3 separate regions of the Homo sapiens genome follow, and regions 2 and 3 are each linked to region 1. Evidence: promoter capture Hi-C in 16 types of primary human blood cells and fetal thymus (Javierre and others, 2016). All regions are on one chromosome and are shown on one strand. Each heading gives the region's core, a stretch centred on a gene start or on the middle of the fragment in contact. The rest is flanking DNA. Distances are from core to core; before and after follow the strand shown. Region 1 holds the start of SLC38A2 (solute carrier family 38 member 2). Region 2 overlaps SLC38A4-AS1 (SLC38A4 antisense RNA 1). Region 3 overlaps SLC38A4-AS1 (SLC38A4 antisense RNA 1).

Region 1 (2,870 bases), core at 273-2,772:
CATCCGGGGAAATACTGAATCGTCCCATTTCGGCCTTCTTCATGCTAAGCACTGGGAGGAATCGGGTGCAGCTAGTAGCGCTGGGCTCCTTTTGTCCTTGGCGGTGGGTGCAGCGGCCCGCGAGTCGGCCTGCGAAAGTAGAGGCGGCGCGTCAGGACCGCAGCGCCAGCCCGCCGCGGTCACGTGACGCCGCCCGGAGGCGCAGCGCGGCTGATTCATCCCAGGCCAGGCGAGTGGAAAAGTACCAGCCGCGCGCGAGGGGCGGGGGCGCGCCGAGGGGCGGAAAAGTACAGACGGCGGAGCCGCGGGGAGAACAAAGATGATGCCACCGCTGTGTTGCGGCCGTCGAGGCCCCCTACTCCGGCAGATTTCAGTATTTCACCCTCTCTATTGTCCCTCGTCGGAGTGGAGGGGGCGAGGGGGGGTTCTGTTTTGCTTTTTCCCAGTCGCTCCAAACTTGCACAGGCACTCAGGGCACACATCCAGCCCCGACCCTGGCTCGTGTGCATGCAACCTAGGCGCACGGCTTTCCGTTTCTAGCATTTGGAACAGCAATGCTGCGTAATCTGTCCTTTACTGCCCGGAGTCCCCACACGGAGAAATGCCTCTGCCGCAGACAGCCTTCCCCAGGAGGCGGAAAGGGCCGACACTACTCCTCTCTCGAGGGGGGCGAACGCCCGGGCCCCGGGAGCTGGGGGTTTGTTTACACACGCGCGCCAGTGCCCTCAAGCACACCCGTCCACAGGCAGCTGGCCCGCGAGTGCTACGCCCGCCCAGCCCCTCCTATGTCCGGAAAGAAAACTGATGCAATATCGATCGTCGATTGTCAAATGTTCCCAACTCGTCTTCCCCAATCTTGGCCTCTCCTGTAATACATGCCCAAGCCCACCTCCGCCGCCCCCAGATTCCTGGCTCCCTGGACTTAATTTTTTTTTTTTATTAAATGCAAATCAGTCACAAGACTTGCCGCAGCAGAGCCGCTGGCCGGGCTAGCTCCCCTCCCCCTAATGGGAAGATGCGGCTCCGCACCGTGCAGGCACGCGGCCCCCGCCCAGCGCCCGCTCTCCTACCCACGTCGCGGGCGCGACACCCGCGCGGCGGGCCAGGGTGGAAGGCTGGCCAGCCCAACCGACAACGCCCGCCTCGAAAGGAAACGGACCCCGCGGCCGCCTTCCCGCGCGGCCCCTCCCGGAAGCCCCTCCCCCACTCTCGCCCGGGCCCCGCGCCCTTCCCACAGACGCCCCCCCGCACGCGTTACCTCGGTGGTCTCTATTCTCACGCAGACGTCTTCAGTGGGTTTCTCTCAGTCAAATACAAATCATAAAAAACAAACAAAAAATTTCCCCAAATCCAACAACAGGCAGGAAAAATAATTTTAATAAAAAAGGAAAAGACAAATTGCCGCCCCAATCCTCCGGCGTCCGCCGTGTCAAGGGAAAGGCGCGAGCGTGCGGTAACGCGTGGTCGGGCTGCTGCTAGCAGTACTGGAAAGGCGTTCTAAGGCGGCGGCGTCGCGCGGCTGTGGAGCAGCCCTGCGAGCGGCGGGTTATAGCGGCACCCCGGGGACGCGTCAGTGGGCGGGACCGCGGCCGCCCGGGCGCCTTCTCTTTGTGTATCAACACCACCTGGGCCCCGCCTCCGACCCGCCCAGACCTAGGCCCCGCCTCCCTGCCCCTCCCTCTGCGGCCCGCGCCCGCGGCCCAGCCCCGCCCGCAGGCGCCCCCAAGACTCTCCCGCAAAGCCCAAGCCCACTCTCTCCAGCTTTCTAGATAGTCTGGAAAGACCCCCAGATGCTTCCCCTGCCTATCCTTTTCAGCCAGGGTTGGTGCTCAACACATGCGGTTGTCTTTGAGGAGCCATCTCCTTAAAATTTTCTCCTGTCCGAGTCACCAGCAGTCCTTGCTTTCGGGGGACACATCAAGGCTTTTGGGGGACACCACCCTCCCACCAAACACTTTCTTGATTGTTATTTTTGTGATTTACAGTGAAGTTTTGTCTCACAAACTTGGGCCAAGGCAGCAAGGTTGTCCTGATGGTTTGTTGTTCTTTCTTTTCCACCTAGACCTGCTTTCACTCTTCAAAACTAGCCGGAGGTCGGCGAGCAGCTCCTTTTCGGGATGTGCTTTTTGTACGGCCATGGAAACTGGACTAGCGGAAAGGCTACCTTTTGGCCAGCAAGCCAGGCCCCTTAGAAAGAGGCCCCAGTGGGGAGCCCGGCGCTCCTAAGGCCGTTTGGGAGTCCCCAGTTTTCCACTCGCTGACACGTTGCTTCTCTTATCCCACCACCGCCGCCCCGGGCAAAGGCACTGCCTTGTCTGAATGCGGGTCTGAGGCGCTTTCTGCGGAGCCTGGTCCTTTCCCTTCAATGGTGATGTGTGTGGTCTTGCTGAGCCAGGCAACTAGGGGGACCCTTCGCTGTGGAAAAATTGGTGCTGCGGGAAAGGCAAGACTCACTCCCTTGCAGGAAACAAAGACCCCTTAGGAGAGAGAAATGTTCATGGAATGAATGAATAAACAAGTTTGACCTACTGCTCTCTTCCTTTTGGGGACTTGGGAGAAATTGGGCAGGGCATAGAGGAAAGGGCTGGGTGTGATCGCAGTTTTTGCTTTCAATGTTTTACTGAGGAAATCCGTACAACTGCCTATTTCCGCCGCACGTGAGGCTTCGGGTGCCCTCGCCTGCACCAGTGTTTATGATTGACAAGCGAGGTCCCGATTTCCCCCATCACACTCCTGTGTTCCCTACCCCAAACCTTCTACTCTGTTCAGGCCAGTCTTCCCTACCGCAAACCTTCTACTCTGTTCAGGCCAGTCTTAAATAATAGCCATTCTTGCTTTGGTGTCCAATCTCCTCTCATCCCCTTAAATGC
Region 2 (2,870 bases), core at 206-2,705, 280 kb after region 1:
TCCTGCTTAATTAATTCAAGAACATTTAGTTCCAGGTACTAAGATTAGGGAAGGCGGTCTGAACCTCCTTGGCCTGAGCTTCCTATTTCCACGTGAAAAGACCTCCACTAGTTTCACCCTCCAGGCACTCCCACCTAATAATACTGAGATAAGAGGCTGGTCAGCCAGGTGTGTCTCAGCCCCTTCCTCTTTCCACAGATTATTGCCTGCTCCTCCAAGCCCTTCACTGTAGAATGGAAGCCTGTGATTTTCCTGGCATCATGCATGACTGAGAAGGTCAGTGTGGCTAATTCTGAGCTTCAACATCAGGAAACCCGTAGTTCTTCACACTGAGCCGCCTCCTGCAGCACAGTCATCCTTGGTAATAAAGCTGATATTTTAATCAATATCTGTCTTACTCTTTCATCTTGTCCCTCATTTGGTTTAGAATTCAGGTGGGGAAAACAATTGTTTACTTTATCGGACTCCTAACCATGTGCTTGGCAGACACAGGTGAATAAATACAGTCTCTATTCTCAGGAAATTCATAGAGCAATGGTGGGAGGTGGGTAGATGGAAATGGAAGCAAAAAAAACAATGTGAATTACTGTAACTAGGGAAGTGGTGTAGTGGAGTTCAAGAGCTTCAGTTCTGGTCTCATTCAATCTTAGATGCATTCCCAAATGTGCCATTTAATAGATGAGTGACCCTGGGGAAGTAATTTTACCTCAGTGCCTCAGTTTTCTCATCTATAAAATGGGAATTATAATACCCACCTCACAGATTGTAAAGATTCAATGAGATAATACATCTAAATTGTTCAGCACAGTGCCAAGCATGAAGAAAAATCACCCTTTTGACCATTGTTATTATTAGAAGTGTGACATATATGCTGTGTAATCTACAGGAGGGCACCTGTCTCTTCACGTGAGTGCTATTATCCAAAGAGAGGTAGAAAAGAATTCTGTCTATATCATAGAGCAATGATAAGCAAAGCAACCCCAGACTGTAGCTAATATATATTTTGGGGCATCACTCTGTAGGTTCTAGTTTGCTTTTCAGTCTGTCAGTTGGGTGGTAGCTACTCTCCAGCCTGGCATCAGGCACCCAGCAGAGAGGGACCGGCAATCACCAGGCTAGTGCAGCACGAATGTATATTGGTTTATGAAAGCAGCTACCTCCCACATGCAAGAGAAGAGTAAAAGAGAAGAATAGAAGAGGAAAGAGAAGAAAAAAAGGAGGAGGCGAGGAAAAGGAGGAAAGGGGAGGGGAGGGGAGGAAAGGGAAGAAAAATGTATAATTCAGTTCCTTCCAATAAATATGGCTGTGCAATAGTTTACATTAATATTACCAAAGTGACCAAATTAATGTATGAACTCACAGAATAATAATTCAAAATTGATACAAGGAAGTCACATGTAAATTAGGATGGACAGAAGACACATGGAAAGAGGGATGTGCATAAAAGATGCAGGGGAAAGCCTTCATGAAAAAATATGGAAAGGAAATAGAGAACTGTACTACTATCCTCCTCTATCTGTCAATTTCTACTAAGAAGTTTTATACCCTTAAAAAATCATAAAGTTCACATATACACTTTCTCATCTACACTGTCTCTACAAGATACTCAGTCTTTATGAGATGACTTTTTTCATATCCAGTTCTTGCTCTTGTTTTAATGTTCTGGTACTTCAATCACTTTGCAGCAGGAAGAAGGAGACCCTTTTTTTTCCTTTTTTTTTTTCCTTTTGAGACAGAGTCTCGCTCTGTCACCCAGGCTGGAGTGTAATGGCGCAATCTCGGGTCATTGCAACCTCTGCCTCCCAGATTCAAATGATTCTCCTGCCTCAGCCTCCTGAGTAGCTGGGATTACAGGCGCGCACCACCACGCCCTACTAATTTTTTTTTTTTTTTTTTTTTTTGTATTTTTAGTACAGACAGAGTTTCACCATGTTGGTCAGGCTGGTCTGGAACTCCTGGCCTTGTGATCTGCCCACCTTGGCCTCCCAAAGTGCTGGGATTACAGGTGTGAGTCACTGCGCCCGGCCAAGACCCTCCTTTTCAATACCATCATCCAACCGTCTACTTATGACCACACCCCGCCCACCTCCATCCACCTGGCTACTTATTCCAGCTGCAGCAGCCTCCCTCTCGCTCTTTAGCATTTGAGGTTCCTCTGGCTGGGATGTCCATCCCCCTGACTTCCACACTGCTTGCACCTTCACTTTCCTTAGATCCTACTGATACTACCTTATTGGGAAAACTTTCTCTGGCCACTTTTTTTCAATGAGAACTCTATCTCCCCAAAATACTCCTTCCCTTTTCTCCTGCTTTATTATTCTCCAAAGCCATAATCTCCATCTAACATGGTATATACCTTTACACGTTTGCTGGCTTATTGTTGTCTTTCCTTCTGTCTTAGGTTGGATTTCCTAGAAACAGAACCTGAGAGAAGAATTCAGGTGCATATTGAGGGAATGCTCTTCAGGAAAACCTGTAAAGGGAGGGAATGATGCAGGATAGTGTGAGTGAAGCAGCCGGGCAAGGGTGTGCTTCCAGGGAGGTCTAGCCATGAGAAAGAATTTTTCCGGTGCACTAATTGCATCTGGAAGCAAGAGGCCCACTCTTTGTACCCTCCTTTCAGTCGTTGGCTGTGTGCTGAGTTCGGGGCATTGCGACTTCCTGGCTGAGGCAATGCCCTTGCACTGAGGTCAATTCTCTTTCGAATGGGACAGATGGGAGCCAACATGCATAGAAACTGGGAGCAGAAGTGTTGGCCATGTAAAAGGGACCCAAGACAGGCAACTAAATGACATCTAACACTTCCATTACAGTATAATCTCCATGGTATTTCAGACTCTCTGGTTTGCTTTGTGCTGTATTTCTAGCAC
Region 3 (2,870 bases), core at 248-2,747, 260 kb after region 1:
AATTAGCCACAAACAGACTGAACTCAATCATCAGGCAAGGACTGTTAGATGCACTATTAAACCATGCAAGCTACTATAATGAAATACTAGATGTATTTTTGATAGTTTCATATTATTCTTAGTGAAAGAAAATTTAAGTTTAAGAAAAAATCTTTTTTAGTTTAAGACATAGATGTTTGATGGTTAAAGATTCAAGTCTGGGCTTCTCATATCTTCAGATAAGTTTCAGATCTTTTCTTTCATGACAGCCATTGCTGCCACTTATTCCTCCATGTGGCCTTTGTGAATGGTCATTTTTGGGGTGAGCCCTCTCATCACTGCAGCTTTGAGCTAAACATCCATCAGGAGAACCCCTTTCCACAGCCATGATAGGAAAATCCTATTGGGACTTTCAAAATTTTGTGCCAGTTACTAAAAAAAAATCTTTGGATAGGTAAAGATATTTTCCGCTAAATGATTCCTAAGATTGGATGCCCAATTGAAGCTATCTGAGTGATGTCATGTGAGGAAATGAAGCATATCAAGTTCAACCATGTGCTTAAGACTGCTTCATTGTTTCTACATTGGATTCCTGGAGCATTATCTCACACCAACTAGTATCACTTCATTACTACTTCATTTGTCTCTCTAGTTATCCTTTAACCTTGTCTTTTGCCTTCCCTGCAGTGAGAGGGTGCACTGGTCTTATTAACTTCATTCATTCATTTAACCAATATTTATTTGCACTTACGATATGCACTGGGGCTATGATGAAGATGAAATGACAGTTTCTGCTCTCGAAGACTCATAGGTGCAGGAGAGATAGGCAGGTAATTCCAATGCAATATCAGGGCCACTGTGATGAAGGAGATATGACTAATGAAAGCAGAAAGAAAAGAATGCTGTATGCCTGTATAGGGGGCACCCAGGGAAGGCTTCCCCAGAGAAAGCAGTGGTTAGCCAAAACTAAAAGTAACTAGGAATTTTCCAAGTGAGAGAAACTTTGGATGATAGGAAATTTCCTTCTAGGAATTATGGGCTGGCTTATTCAAGGAATAGTGAGGTGTTTGGGATGGCTGAGGCTTAGCATGTGGGAAAGAATGGTAGAAGATGAAGCAGGATGAGTGGGCAGTTACTCCTTTTTAATGGCAAAGTATGTTTAGATTTTATCTTACAGGGAACATGAGTAATGGAAAAATTTTAAGAAGGATAATGGCAAGAACATATTTGCATATGAGAGATAATTATTTTAGCATTTGGAAGATGGATTTTTAGGAAAGGGTGAGACTAGAGGCCAGACAATTAATAGATGACCGATAATAGTAAGTGCTGCCGCCAGACTAAAATCCAGATATCCTGGCTCCAAATCAGGAGGTCTCAACCACTATCTAGGTTGCCTTTCTTGTGCAGAGTTCATGAATAGAGTTCAGGAGGCAGTTTACTTGGGTTCAAAACCCTGTTCTGACCCTTAGGGGTGGTGAAATTATTGAAGGATCACTTAATCTTTCTTTGTTTCAGTCCCCTCATCTGTATAATGGGGAGAATACAAATATAGTACAACCTCATGATGTGTGTGTGTGTGTGTGAAGATTAAGTGGATAAATATTTATAAAGTTCTAATAATTGTGCTTGGCAAATAGCAACCACTGTGTAAATGTTGGCAGTGATGATGATGATGCTGGTGGTGATGGTGATGATGATAATGATGTAGGCAACTTTGTCCCACAGCAGGTCCTAATGGAGGGAACTCAGCGGGATGTCCATTCCTGGAAACTGTGAGAACTGATCAGTTACTCTGGATAGGAAAGAGATAGGAATTCTCAAATTCTCACTATGACCTTCACAGTCTATTGGCAGTGAGGTCTTCAGTGAGTTTCCAGATCTAGGTCCACCCATATCTAGAAGCAAGTTGAGCTTTCTCAAAAGGCAATACAAATGATTACTGACTATCTCCTGTTGCAGGGTTCTCAAACATTGGAATGCATCAAAAACATCTGAAGAGTTTGTTTAAACATAGATTTCTGCATTCCAACTCCAGAATTTGTGATTCAATAGATCCAGAGTAGGATCCAAGAATTTGCTCTTCTAACACATTTGAGGGTGATGCTGATGCTGCTGGTCCTGTCTGGGGTCCACACTTGGAGAACTCCTGCCCTGTTATGTGCTCTACTACCTTGCATTAAAGAAAATGAATAAGACTCAGTGTTCCTGGCTTCCTGCTTCCTCCCAAACTGTCTGCTGAGCAACCCCTGATTTCCTCACTGTTTCAGAAGCACTGGCTCTGTAGGCTCCCAGGATGTGTGTGCTGCATGGATCTCTTCTCATCTGTATAACCTCATCCGTGTAACTAAGAGATTGAACCAAATCCCCAGGCCCACTGAATAAGAAATCAGAGTTAAGGCCCCCATGGGAGAGGTGGGTACCTCAGAAGCCAATCTCGTGTGATCCTGCCTTTCATTTCTCTATTGCCCCACTGGAATCATTTGTTGTTGAAGTGTCTATGGCTCTGTGTTTGTGAAGAAAACAGGCAACTCTCTCTGACATTTTCAGCTGTGATTTTGATTTTCCATTCCATAGTTAACTAGTTTAAAGGAGCACAAACCAAAGGTTGTCACCATCGCTAATCTTTGCAATGATTAACTAATTAACATAGTGATTGCAAAATGAACTATTTTCACAACTCAGTGATTCTGATAACTGTGGTTAGCTTGGGTATCATGTGTGTGTGTACATATGTGTGTGTGTGTGTGTGTGAGAGAGAGAGAGCGAGAGAGAGAGATTCTCTAACTCTGATTTCCAGGATTGGCTCCTGTCACTTGGCACCCTTGCTGACTGCACCTGTTTGCAACATTGGGCTACAGGAGGAGTCCTGGAATGGAAGCCTGATGAAA

The links. Contacts are between HindIII fragments. The CHiCAGO score rates a contact against its expected background, and 5 or more counts as called.
Region 2: a fragment that was not itself captured here is called in contact with the fragment with the promoter of SLC38A2 in region 1 in 15 of 17 cell types (megakaryocytes, M0 macrophages, M2 macrophages and 12 more); the score reaches 14.5 in megakaryocytes.
Region 3: a fragment that was not itself captured here is called in contact with the fragment with the promoter of SLC38A2 in region 1 in 1 of 17 cell types (naive CD8 T cells); the score reaches 5.0 in naive CD8 T cells.

What each region holds. Positions count from the first base shown.
Region 1 is chr12:46,371,251-46,374,120 of GRCh38, forward strand. SLC38A2 (solute carrier family 38 member 2) reads right to left here and starts at 1,523. Exons shown (of 16, transcript NM_018976.5): 1 at 1,259-1,523; 2 at 1-129. The coding sequence starts at 43. SLC38A2-AS1 (SLC38A2 antisense RNA 1) reads left to right here and starts at 1,533. Exons shown (of 2, transcript NR_187299.1): 1 at 1,533-1,612; 2 at 2,063-2,528. RefSeq lists enhancers at 453-602, 683-1,012, 702-1,405, 1,263-1,342, 2,023-2,082 and silencers at 1,033-1,232, 1,433-1,772. The HindIII fragment of the contact is 15,961 bases long and covers 1-2,870 here.
Region 2 is chr12:46,652,192-46,655,061 of GRCh38, forward strand. SLC38A4-AS1 (SLC38A4 antisense RNA 1) reads left to right here. Exons shown (of 4, transcript NR_125380.1): 4 at 199-388. Among named protein-coding and RNA genes, the nearest start is that of SLC38A4, 170 kb to the right of the region's middle. The HindIII fragment of the contact is 7,316 bases long and covers 1-2,870 here.
Region 3 is chr12:46,627,281-46,630,150 of GRCh38, forward strand. All of the region lies in intron 3 of SLC38A4-AS1 (SLC38A4 antisense RNA 1), which reads left to right. Among named protein-coding and RNA genes, the nearest start is that of SLC38A4, 200 kb to the right of the region's middle. The HindIII fragment of the contact is 3,527 bases long and covers 1-2,870 here.